2 separate regions of the Homo sapiens genome follow, and region 1 is linked to region 2. Evidence: promoter capture Hi-C in 16 types of primary human blood cells and fetal thymus (Javierre and others, 2016). All regions are on one chromosome and are shown on one strand. The core of a region is centred on a gene start or on the middle of the fragment in contact, and the rest is flanking DNA. Distances in the headings are between cores, read along the strand shown.

Evidence for each region. Contacts are between HindIII fragments. The CHiCAGO score rates a contact against its expected background, and 5 or more counts as called.
Region 1: a fragment that was not itself captured here is called in contact with the fragment with the promoter of LINC03030 in region 2 in 1 of 17 cell types (M1 macrophages); the score reaches 6.1 in M1 macrophages.

What each region holds. Positions count from the first base shown.
Region 1 is chr11:77,339,661-77,344,843 of GRCh38, forward strand. PAK1 (p21 (RAC1) activated kinase 1) reads right to left here. Exons shown (of 15, transcript NM_002576.5): 10 at 4,159-4,271; 11 at 986-1,103. Among named protein-coding and RNA genes, the nearest start is that of GDPD4, 41 kb to the left of the region's middle. The HindIII fragment of the contact is 163 bases long and covers 3,055-3,217 here.
Region 2 is chr11:77,568,988-77,573,845 of GRCh38, forward strand. LINC03030 (long intergenic non-protein coding RNA 3030) reads left to right here and starts at 2,102. Exons shown (of 3, transcript NR_130930.1): 1 at 2,102-2,323; 2 at 2,528-2,698. The HindIII fragment of the contact is 9,547 bases long and covers 1-3,273 here.

The sequences.
Region 1 (5,183 bases), core at 1,886-4,385, 230 kb before region 2:
AACTACATAATTTCAGCAGTATGCCTTCAGCTCTTGCACCATCAAACCCCCATCATACTATTATACTCATCTCCACAAAATTCTGAACCTCATCTCATCTTCTATGCTTCCCCTAATTTCCTAACTTTTCTACTAGGTTGGTGCAAAAGCAATTGTGGTTTTGGTATTTTTTTTTTTTTAAGTAATGGCAAAAACCGCAATTACTTTTGCATTATTGGGCCATCAGAAAGTCCAGTCTGTCATCAGCAAAACACCCAATATCCTCAATGTCTCTGAATATTCCCTTCATCTTTTTGCTCTAATGGAAATGAAATGTGGTTATTCCCTGAGGACACTGTCCAGGCTTTCTGGAGGGCTTTTCTTCCTCCTACATCAGCGTATTATCAATTCTAGACATTTAATAGCAATGAGGAGAAAGGGAGTATCTATTTGAGCTTTGTTTTCTTTTTTTATTTTCCTGGAAGTATTTTACCCTAGATTTTTGCTGGCTTGCTTTTATATATCATTCAGATGTTTACTCAAATCTATAGCAAAACCTTCCCTGACTGTCTTGTCTAAAATAGTACTTCCTCCATCACTACCTTCTTACTCTGTTTTATTTTCCTTATAGCACATAAATAAAGCAAGAAAGCAGAATAAAAATGATTGAAATATATGCCCAGATAAAAGAGATAAAGGAATATATTATAACGTGCTTAGGCAAGTGGTTATCTCTAAGACTGGAATTATGAGTGACTTTTTACAATATATACTTTCTAGTACTTTATAATTTTTCTACAATGGGTAGAATAAAGTTATCGTTAAAAAAAAAATCATGGTGATAGAAATGACAAACACAGGTACAATACAGGAATGATAGCAGTGTCAGCACTAATTTCTACCAATTCCACAGAGCCCAGGCTGAGATCTCACTGTACAGGGAACTTCAGGAGACAGGAATATGGAGGCAGCTTTCTACCCAAGACTGCTTGGCCCTTGGCCTTACCTCACGGCACACAGCTGCAATTTGGCCTTCATCCATGCAAGTTTCTGTCACCACATCTGTCAAGGAGCCTCCAGCCAAGTATTCCATAACAACCCACAGCTCATCTCCCACGAGGTAACTGCAGGAATACAGATAAAGGGTGAGAGAGAACAATCAGAGTACACTGAGCCATAGCACTGGGTTTCAAAGGCTAAGCATATACACAGAGTGAAACTACGTCTTAGCACAAAGTAAAGTAAAAGGTTCTTTACTTTGGGGAAAAGCAGAATCTGGGGAACAGAATCACTAACTTTGAATCTCTCAAGGATGCTCCTGGAGAAAACCAAGTATACATGTTCTGTGAAGCCCCAAAGGGCAGAACTAAGATCTCTAGCTTGAAGTGATACAATAAAATTATATTTCATCACAACACAAAGGAAGACATCCTAAAATTAGAAAGACTGACATGATTCCCACACCTCTAGAAGCATCCAAACATTTGACAAAGATAGGATTTAGAGTCCATGTTACCCAAAGAAGAGAGAGCTACTAAACCTCCCAGAGAGTCCTACCAGATCTGAGATCTATGAGACCAAGTATTGGGTCTTGTTCAAGACTCTATCCTCAGAGTCCAGCACAGCAGATGCCAATATTTACTAAATAAATCACTGAAAAAATAAAAGATAACTATAAATATTAAACGAAATAATGTTTATAGGAGCCCCTTAAAAGCTGCAAAGTGTTGTATACATAGTCATTATGCTGACAATTGACCTCTACTTTGAGTGTCTGTGGTTCAAGAATGGAATGAATTTAGCAAGGGCTTATGGAGCCAAAGCCTTCTGATAAGCCAAGACTACCATTTAGTAAGATATCCCCAGAGAGATTATGGGCTGACATGAGTTAGAAGTGATAGTTTCACTCAGGAGTTGGATCACTCAACCCTATTACACGATAAATAAAAAGGTCACTTAGCCTATTTGGTCAATGTTTCCTTACTATAGAATCAGACAAATAAAAACAAGGCGAGCCTAGAGCCCTAAAGTCTTCTGCCAGTCTTGGACAAAGAAGCTGGATTGGAAAAAAACATTTCTTGCATTGGCTTGAACTGTGTGGTATCATCTTATCTTCATCCTGATATTGGGAATACTGCTGGACAGATGTGGAGACTGTTGGAAGATTTTAACAAATGCAATCAAGCAAGGGTAAGATTTGAATCCTATTTTTTTGACTACTAATCGACAGCTCTTTCCATAAAACTCTGTGTTCTGATTTATAATTTTTTAATGTCCTGACTAATAAACATGACAGACTAAGTGTTTCTTCAACAATCTCTTTTGAGAGAGAAGACTATGGGGATTTGAACTGCTATGGTCTGAATGTTTGTGTCCCTCAAAATTTATATGTTGAAAATCTAATCACTAATGTTATTAGGAGGTGGGGCCTTTGGAAGGTGATTACATCATGAGGGTTCTGCCCATGAGTTCATCCATATGTGATGGAGTTCCCCTCTGGGACATCTCACAAAAACCACAGACCCTCATTTGCAACACCTTCACTGAATGCTCAGGTTAATGTCCTCTTCCATGACCTTACAGAGGTATTTTTTTTTTTTCTATACCAGACCAGGAACTATTTGAGGGCAAAGATAGCATTATTTACTTCTAATTTCCAGAGTAAAAGTCTCTGGGAATACTGGTAAAGATATGATTAATAAACAAATCTATAAGTCTCTTAATCCTACTCCCAGAACACAAATTCCTTCAATAACATCGTTTTATCATGTAGATGCATCCACTGATGGGGAACTCACCATTTTGTGAGACAGGCCATACCCTTACTGACAGCTTTCATTTTTCCATATCCTGAACCAAAATCTAATACCCCTGTCGCCTTCAGTAGTTTGCATGAGCTATATTCTCTGTATAATAAGTTCTGAAAGAGATGATAAGGTACTAACTTTCAGAGGATTCTTCAGAGCCAGTCAGGACCCACATTAAGGAGACACAGCCATCTCAAAGAAGAAGGCTTTATTCTTTATAGTGTTGGGAATGTCAAAGTTCAACTCTTTTCTTCTTTAAGGAAACTGAAGCTTACTAGTGTTTTAGATGCAGAACAAGAAGGCGCCCTTATGAAATCTACCAGTAACAGGAAGAGGTAGCTGGTCATGCAATATAAGAGGTAAAGAAATTAGAGTCCAAGATTTAGTCCAATTTCACCTCCACCTACGATGTCTCTGAACCCTGGGCAAGAAGCTTAACTTTTTTTTTTTTTCAGGTATCGGAGAAAAGAACATGATAAAATAGAAAGGTGCTAGATATTGGTGCTAGGAATATTCAAATTCAAAACACTGCTTTGCTGTTTTATGGCTTACTACTCTTGGACAAGTTATTAACGTCTATAAACCTCAGTTTCCTTGTCTGTAAAATATGGATAAAAAAACCCTACCTCACAATGAGATACTGTTCATGAAAGTGCTTGGTACAAAGTAAAGCACAATACAAATATTATATACAACCACTATTACTATTTTGCAAAAAAATTTTGATGGGCTGGAATGATGGGCTAAAATAATAAAAATGGGACTTAATGAAGATAGTGAAAAAGTTCCACATTTCCAGTTTAATGCAAGCTTACGTAAAAAAAAAAAAAAAAATCAGAAATTTTAGTTGACTGCAAACTTACTGGGAGTCAAAGCAGACAACCTAAAAGATAAAACAAGAATGAAATCATTAAGCTGTGTTGAGTTTAGAAAGAGTCCCACTCTCTCCATAGTGGTCAGATCTCAAATGAAACATCTAGTTCTGCACACTGCATTTTAAGAGAACATAAACAAACAACAAGTTATTCAGGAGGATGAGCAGAATAAGGAAAGATTTGGGATGTAAAATGAGTTAAGGACCTAGATGTTTGACTCAGGCAGATGGGTTGGTAGGTTTCCCTTAGGCAAAACAAACAGTACGAGGATCAACTGTTAGAAGCTACACGGTGGTAGAGTTCAGCCTAACACAGAAGGATTTCCCAGCAAAAAAGGTGTCCAGCATTACACAGGGTCACATACAGAGAGCTCAGCATCACAGAAGACTCATAAATGGAGGCAGTTCTGAGGGCTGGCACTGCCCTCTTCTCTAACAGCTTCACCACCAATCAGTCCCAAAGGCCCTTTCCCTCTGATGGGACCCACCACTCCATACCTGTCCAAGTAATTCACAATGTTTGGGTTCTTGTTTTCCCTCATGACCAGGATCTCATTAATAATCAGCTCTTTCTTGGGCTGCTGCTGAAGATTCATCTGCTTAATGGCCACCTGAAATCAAGAGTATATTCAATGTGCAACCATAGTCATTCCCATTTATTGAGCACCTGCTAAGTACCAGACCTTAAGTACTCAGGAAACAAAGATGAGTAAGATACAGTCTTAGCCCTCGAGTAATTCACAGTTTGTCTATGTAGACCAGTGGTCTTCAAAGTGAGGTCTCAAGCCAGCATCATCATCATCTGGGAGCTTGTTGGAAATAAAAACCTCGGGTCCCACCCCAAATCTACTAAATCAGAAGCTCTGTGATGTAAAAAGTCCTCCAGGTCACTGTGATACACATCAAAGTTTCAGAATCAAACTTTGGTGTAGAAAAATACTTTTAAAAAGTCACAACAGAAAAGAGATGCTATAACAGAGGCTCATACAAAATGCTAGCGAAACATAAAATACGGCAAAAGCCAAGAATGCTTTCAATCTGGCTAGGTATAGAGGCTTCATAAAGGGGGAAGTGACTTTCTGAACCTGGCGTAGAAAGATAAATCAGAGTTGATCAGGTTAAGAAAGAAGAGAAAAGGAGGATGAGAGCTCTATCTACAGAAATAAAAACAAATTTCCAGACAACATGAATATATGGTATACGTTAGTTTCTAAGGTACTTGGTATCAATTCCTTCTATGTGTAAGGTACTATTATAAGGTGTTCTCAAATTTGTTATTTCATTTAATCTTCAAAGACACCTTGTGTGCTAAATATTACTAATGATTCAACAGACGGGGAAACTGTGTTTCAGAGAGGATGTGACTTGCATACATAGCTATTCAATAGCAAAATCAGGATTAGAACCCTCAAAAGGGATGTCAAGTTATCCTGTACATGTAGCCAGATTAATTTTCCCCCACAGTACACATTTGATAACCTTGTTCAAAAACTTACATGGCTCCTGGTTGCCTAGAAATGCTT
Region 2 (4,858 bases), core at 852-3,351:
CCCTTCTGGCCCAGGGTGTGTCTTGAAATGTCATGTGATGGCTAGACCCTGGAATGGGGTCCTCAGGACTCTGTCTGGTGCCCTATCCTGCTGTGGCTGAGCAGGTATCCAAGCTGCAAGACAAAGTCCTCTTTACTCTCCCTTCTCTCCTCAGGTAGAGGGAAGGAGTCTCTCCCAGAGCTGTGAACTGCACTGCCTGAGGTTGGGAGAGGGATGATGCAAGCACTGCCTTGGCCTCCCTGGCTCCATGTACATGTTACATGTACCTGAGTACGAGTACCCTGGCTCCAAGCCCAGCACAGCACCAGGACTTGCCCAGCAATTGCAATCCTTAGGGCCTAGACTGCCTTTCAAGTTTACTTAGGACCCCAGAGCCCTTTACCAAATGGTGGTGGCTTGCCAGAGGTCAAGTTCTGACCACTGGGATGGGTAATATGCCTCTGGCTAGGGCTGATGCAAATGCTCCCTCCTTGGCCTCCAGCTGAGTTCTGCCTTGTGTTGTTTTCTGCTGTGACAGGGCAGCACTGAGCTCTAATGCAAAGTCCCATAATCACTGCACTCTCCCTCCCACAAGTGCACAGACTCTCTGTGCTATGCAGCCACAGCTAGGCGATCAGAGAAGGGTGCTGTAGACAATTTGAGACTATTTTTCCTGCCCTCTTCAGTGCCTCTTTCCTTAATGTGATGTTAAAACCAGGTACTATGATTACTCACCTGATTTTTGGTTGTAATGAAGGTGTTTTTTGTGTGAATAGTTGTTCGATTTGGTGTTCCTGCAGGGAGGACAATTTCTGGAGGCCTCTACTTGGCCATATTGCTCCCTAGTCTGTACTCCTTTTGCATTGAGTTTTACAGGATCCACCCATTTCCAAAGTTACTTAGGTCAGCAATTTTCTCCCATTTCCTTCATTGAGTTTTGTTCATAATACAGTTAGATTATTTTGTCACGTTCTTTATTTCATCTTGGGATCATCTATCTGAGCTCCTAAATGATTTTTTTAAATTTGCATACTTTAGGTTCTAAGGGTTCTGACAAATGCAAGGTGTCATGTATCATGTCACTATCATTATGGTATTACACAAAATAATGTCACCATCCTAAAATGTCCTGTGATTTACCTATTCAATCCTCCTTACTGAATTCCTACCAACTTGTTTTTCATCTCTGTAGTTTTACCTTTCATAATGTATATAAGTAGAATCACGGCCAGGCACGGTGGCTCACACCTGCAATACTAGCACTTTCGGAGGCTGAGGCGGGTGGATCACGAGGTCAAGAGATCGAGACAATACTGGCTAACATGGTGAAACGCCGTCTCTGCTAAAAATACAAAAGTTAGCCAGGCATGGTGGCAGGCCCCTGTAGTCCCAGCTACTCGGGAGCCTGAGGCAGGAGAACCGCTCGAACCCAGGAGGTGGAGGTTGCAGTGAGCCGAGATCATGCCACTGCACTCCAGCCTGGCAACAGAGCCAGACTCCGTCTCAAAAAAAAAAAAAAAAAAAGAATTATATAGTAAAAAGCCATCAGACTTGCTTCTTTGACTTACTGATATACATTCAACATTTATCCATGTCTTTGCTTTGCTTGATAGCTCATTTCTTTAAAAAAAAAAAAAAAACTGTGGTAAAATAAACATAACAATTTCCATTTTAACCATTTTCTTTTCTTTTTTTTTTTTTTGAGGCGGAGTCTTCCTCTGTTGCCAGGCTGGAGTGTAGTGGCACAGTCTCGGCTCACTGCAACCTCCACCTCCCAGGTTCAAGCAATTCCCCTGCCTCAGCCCCCCAAGTAGCTGGGACTACAGGAGGGTGCCACCGCGCCTGGCTAACTTATGTATTTTTAGTAGAGACAGAGTTTCACCATGTTGGCCAGGCTGGTCTCAATCTCCTGACTTCGTGATCCACCCACCTTAGCCTCCCAAAGTGCTGAGATTGAGGCAGAAATTTAAAAATAAATATGCATTCATTCACTCCAAGAAAAGTAACAGGCAAGGCAAGGGTTAAAAAGAAAAGAACAAGTTTTCCTCGGCCTAGCAAGCTCACTTCAAGGACAGTTATAAGATAATGCTGTTTGAGAAGCCAAGGCCAAAGGAATGGGCTGCAGACATCCCTCCCCTCCAGAACAAGGTTGAAGGAAAAAAAAAAAGAGAAAGACAAATTCCTTTACTGTTACTTCTTTCCCTGGCTTCTTAAGCATGATTATGTTTTACAAATGTCTGTATTTAGCCAGTTCTTGATTTTCTTTTGACACAGCTCCAAGGCCACCAGCTATGCAAGGCCACAAGTTATGCACTATATGATTAACTGCTTTTGTTTTACTTTTGTAAGTCCACTTATAAAAACCCTGCTCTGTCTTTGTTTAATGCTCAGGTTTTTGGATATAAATCCACTCAGCCAGTGCGTACCTAAAAATAAATATCTTCCTGTACTCTCATATTGGTCTCGCCATTCCTCAGTTTCCTGCAACATTTCTTGGCAAGCCAGCCAGGAGTGGAGATGACAGGCTTACTGTCTCCTTTGCCTATAGGGGGCTGGAGCCCTGGGCCAAGGGAGACCTGTGACCCCAGGTGCCGCCGGGAGAACTTCAGCCCAGAGGGGAAATCAGCTCTCCGTGACCCAGCACCCCTACCCAGCAGCGCAACAGATCCTGAGAGGAGCTACAGGATGATTCTAGAAACAGCGCACTTCAGGAATCATGGTAAGGTTTTGGGGCCCAAGGCAGGACCCATCCTGTAAGGACGGAAAGGGAGCCTGATCACCTCCCGGGGTATGCCTAATAGTCCGACCCAGAGGGACTGGGGGCGATGAGAGCGGCTGTCAATTTGGATGAAACTCTCACCCCAATCAACACAGGAAGCAAGAGTGGCTCACTAAGTTGGTTAGGAAAAGGAAACTGGAGGTGGCGAGAATGGCTTGCCACCCCAACTAAGGAAACTGGAGATGGTGATAGTGGCTCGTCACCCCAATTAGGTACACAGGAACTGGGAGTCGGTCCATCAGAGTTATGACTGAGTGTGGCTCCCGAATGGTTAACTGCTGTCTTAGAGTCAATTTGCTAGCCTCTTGTGTTTAGCAAGGTGGTGGCGGCTAATGCCTTAACACAGGGAGGCCATCCTAGCATCACAGAATCCAATTGTTTGGATCAGTATGTTACTGGGTGATGTTATGACCTTACAACTTGAGTCAGAACTCCTATAGCCATTCCTTTTTGTTCATGAACATATAGAAAGGCTTAGTTATATCTGGTAGTCCTAAGGCTAGGGCCTAAGTTAAAGCTTCCTTGATTTGTTGGAATGCATTTTCTGATTAGTCTCCCAAAGGAGGGTTTTTTTGTCCTCCTTTTGTGGCTTCATATAACGGCACAGCCATCAAGGAAAGATTTGGAATCCAGATGGGGCAAATTCCTGCTGCCCCTAAAAATTCTCTTATTTGGCATCGGGTGGTTGGGATTGGTAGTGCACAAACGTCTTGTTTTCACTCATAGCCAAGCCAGCATTCCCCGTGACTCACTACGAAACCTAGATATTTAACCTCTTTATGGCAAATTTAGGCTTTCTTTTTAGATACTTTGTAACCTGCTTTCCACAGGAGATGAAGGAGGTCCTGAGTTCTCTGATAATAGTCCTCTTGGGTTGGGGCTGCCAAAAGAAGGTCGCCCGTGTACTGTAACAAGCACAGTTATCATTTGGCGGGGTATAGGCCTTGAGGTCTGAAGCCAGTGTTTCCCCAAAGATTGTAGGAGAGTTTTTGAACCCTTGTGGGAGCCTAGTCCACATGAGTTGCATAGCTTCCTTGTCCCATTGAAATGCAAATATGGGCTAACTCGTGCTAAGCGAATATAAAAGAAAGCGTCCTTTAAGTCTAAGACTGTAAACCTAGTGGCACTTGTTGGAATAAGTACCATTAAAGTATATGGATTTGGTGCCACGGGATGGATGGTCACCATGGCCCGGTTTACGGCATGCAAATCTTGCACCGGTATCTACTCATCAGACCTTGGTCCCAGCAGCGGCTTTCATACTGGCAAAAGTGGAGTATTCCGGGGGACTGGCATCGGATTAAGATCCCATATTTATAGAGCCGTTCTAAATGTTTGCAGACACCCTGTACAGCCTTTTGGGGAACTGGGTACTGACGAACCCAGACCGGAGTTGCTCCCGGTTTCAGTTCAGCTACTACTGGTGAAAACTTACTTATAGACTTTACCGAACTGCCCCATGCTGGAGGCTATCAGTACATGCCAGTGTTTGTTTGCACCTTTTCAGGGTGGGTTGAAGCTTTCCCCATCAAAACAGAAAAAGCATGAGAAGTGACTAAAGTACTGTTAAGAGATATTATCCACAGGTTTAGACTGCCTTTAACTTTAGAGTCAGGCAATAAGTTGGCATTTGTAGCTGAAATAATGCAAGATTTAACAAAACTGTTAAAAATAAAATGGAAGTTACATACAGCCTATTGGCCACAAAGTTCAGGAAAAGTAAAATGCATGAACCGCACACTCAAGCAGCTACTGAAGAAATATTGCCAAAAGACTCATCTGAAATGAAATCAGGTTTTGCCTATAGTCCTCTTCCACGTCAGGTGCACCCCCACCAAACAAACTCAGTATTCAACCTATGAGATTTTATTCAGTCAGCCTCCCCCAATCCTAAGTCAAATTAAAGGAAACCTCTGAGAACTAGGGGAATTAACTTTAAGGAAACAAATGTGGCTGGGTGTGGTGGCTCACGCCTGTAATCCCAGCACTTTAGGAGGCCGAGGCAGGTGGATCACGAGGTCAGGAGATCGAGACCATCCTGGCTAACACAGTGAAACCCCATCTCTACTAAAAATACAAAAAATTAGCCGGGCGTGGTGG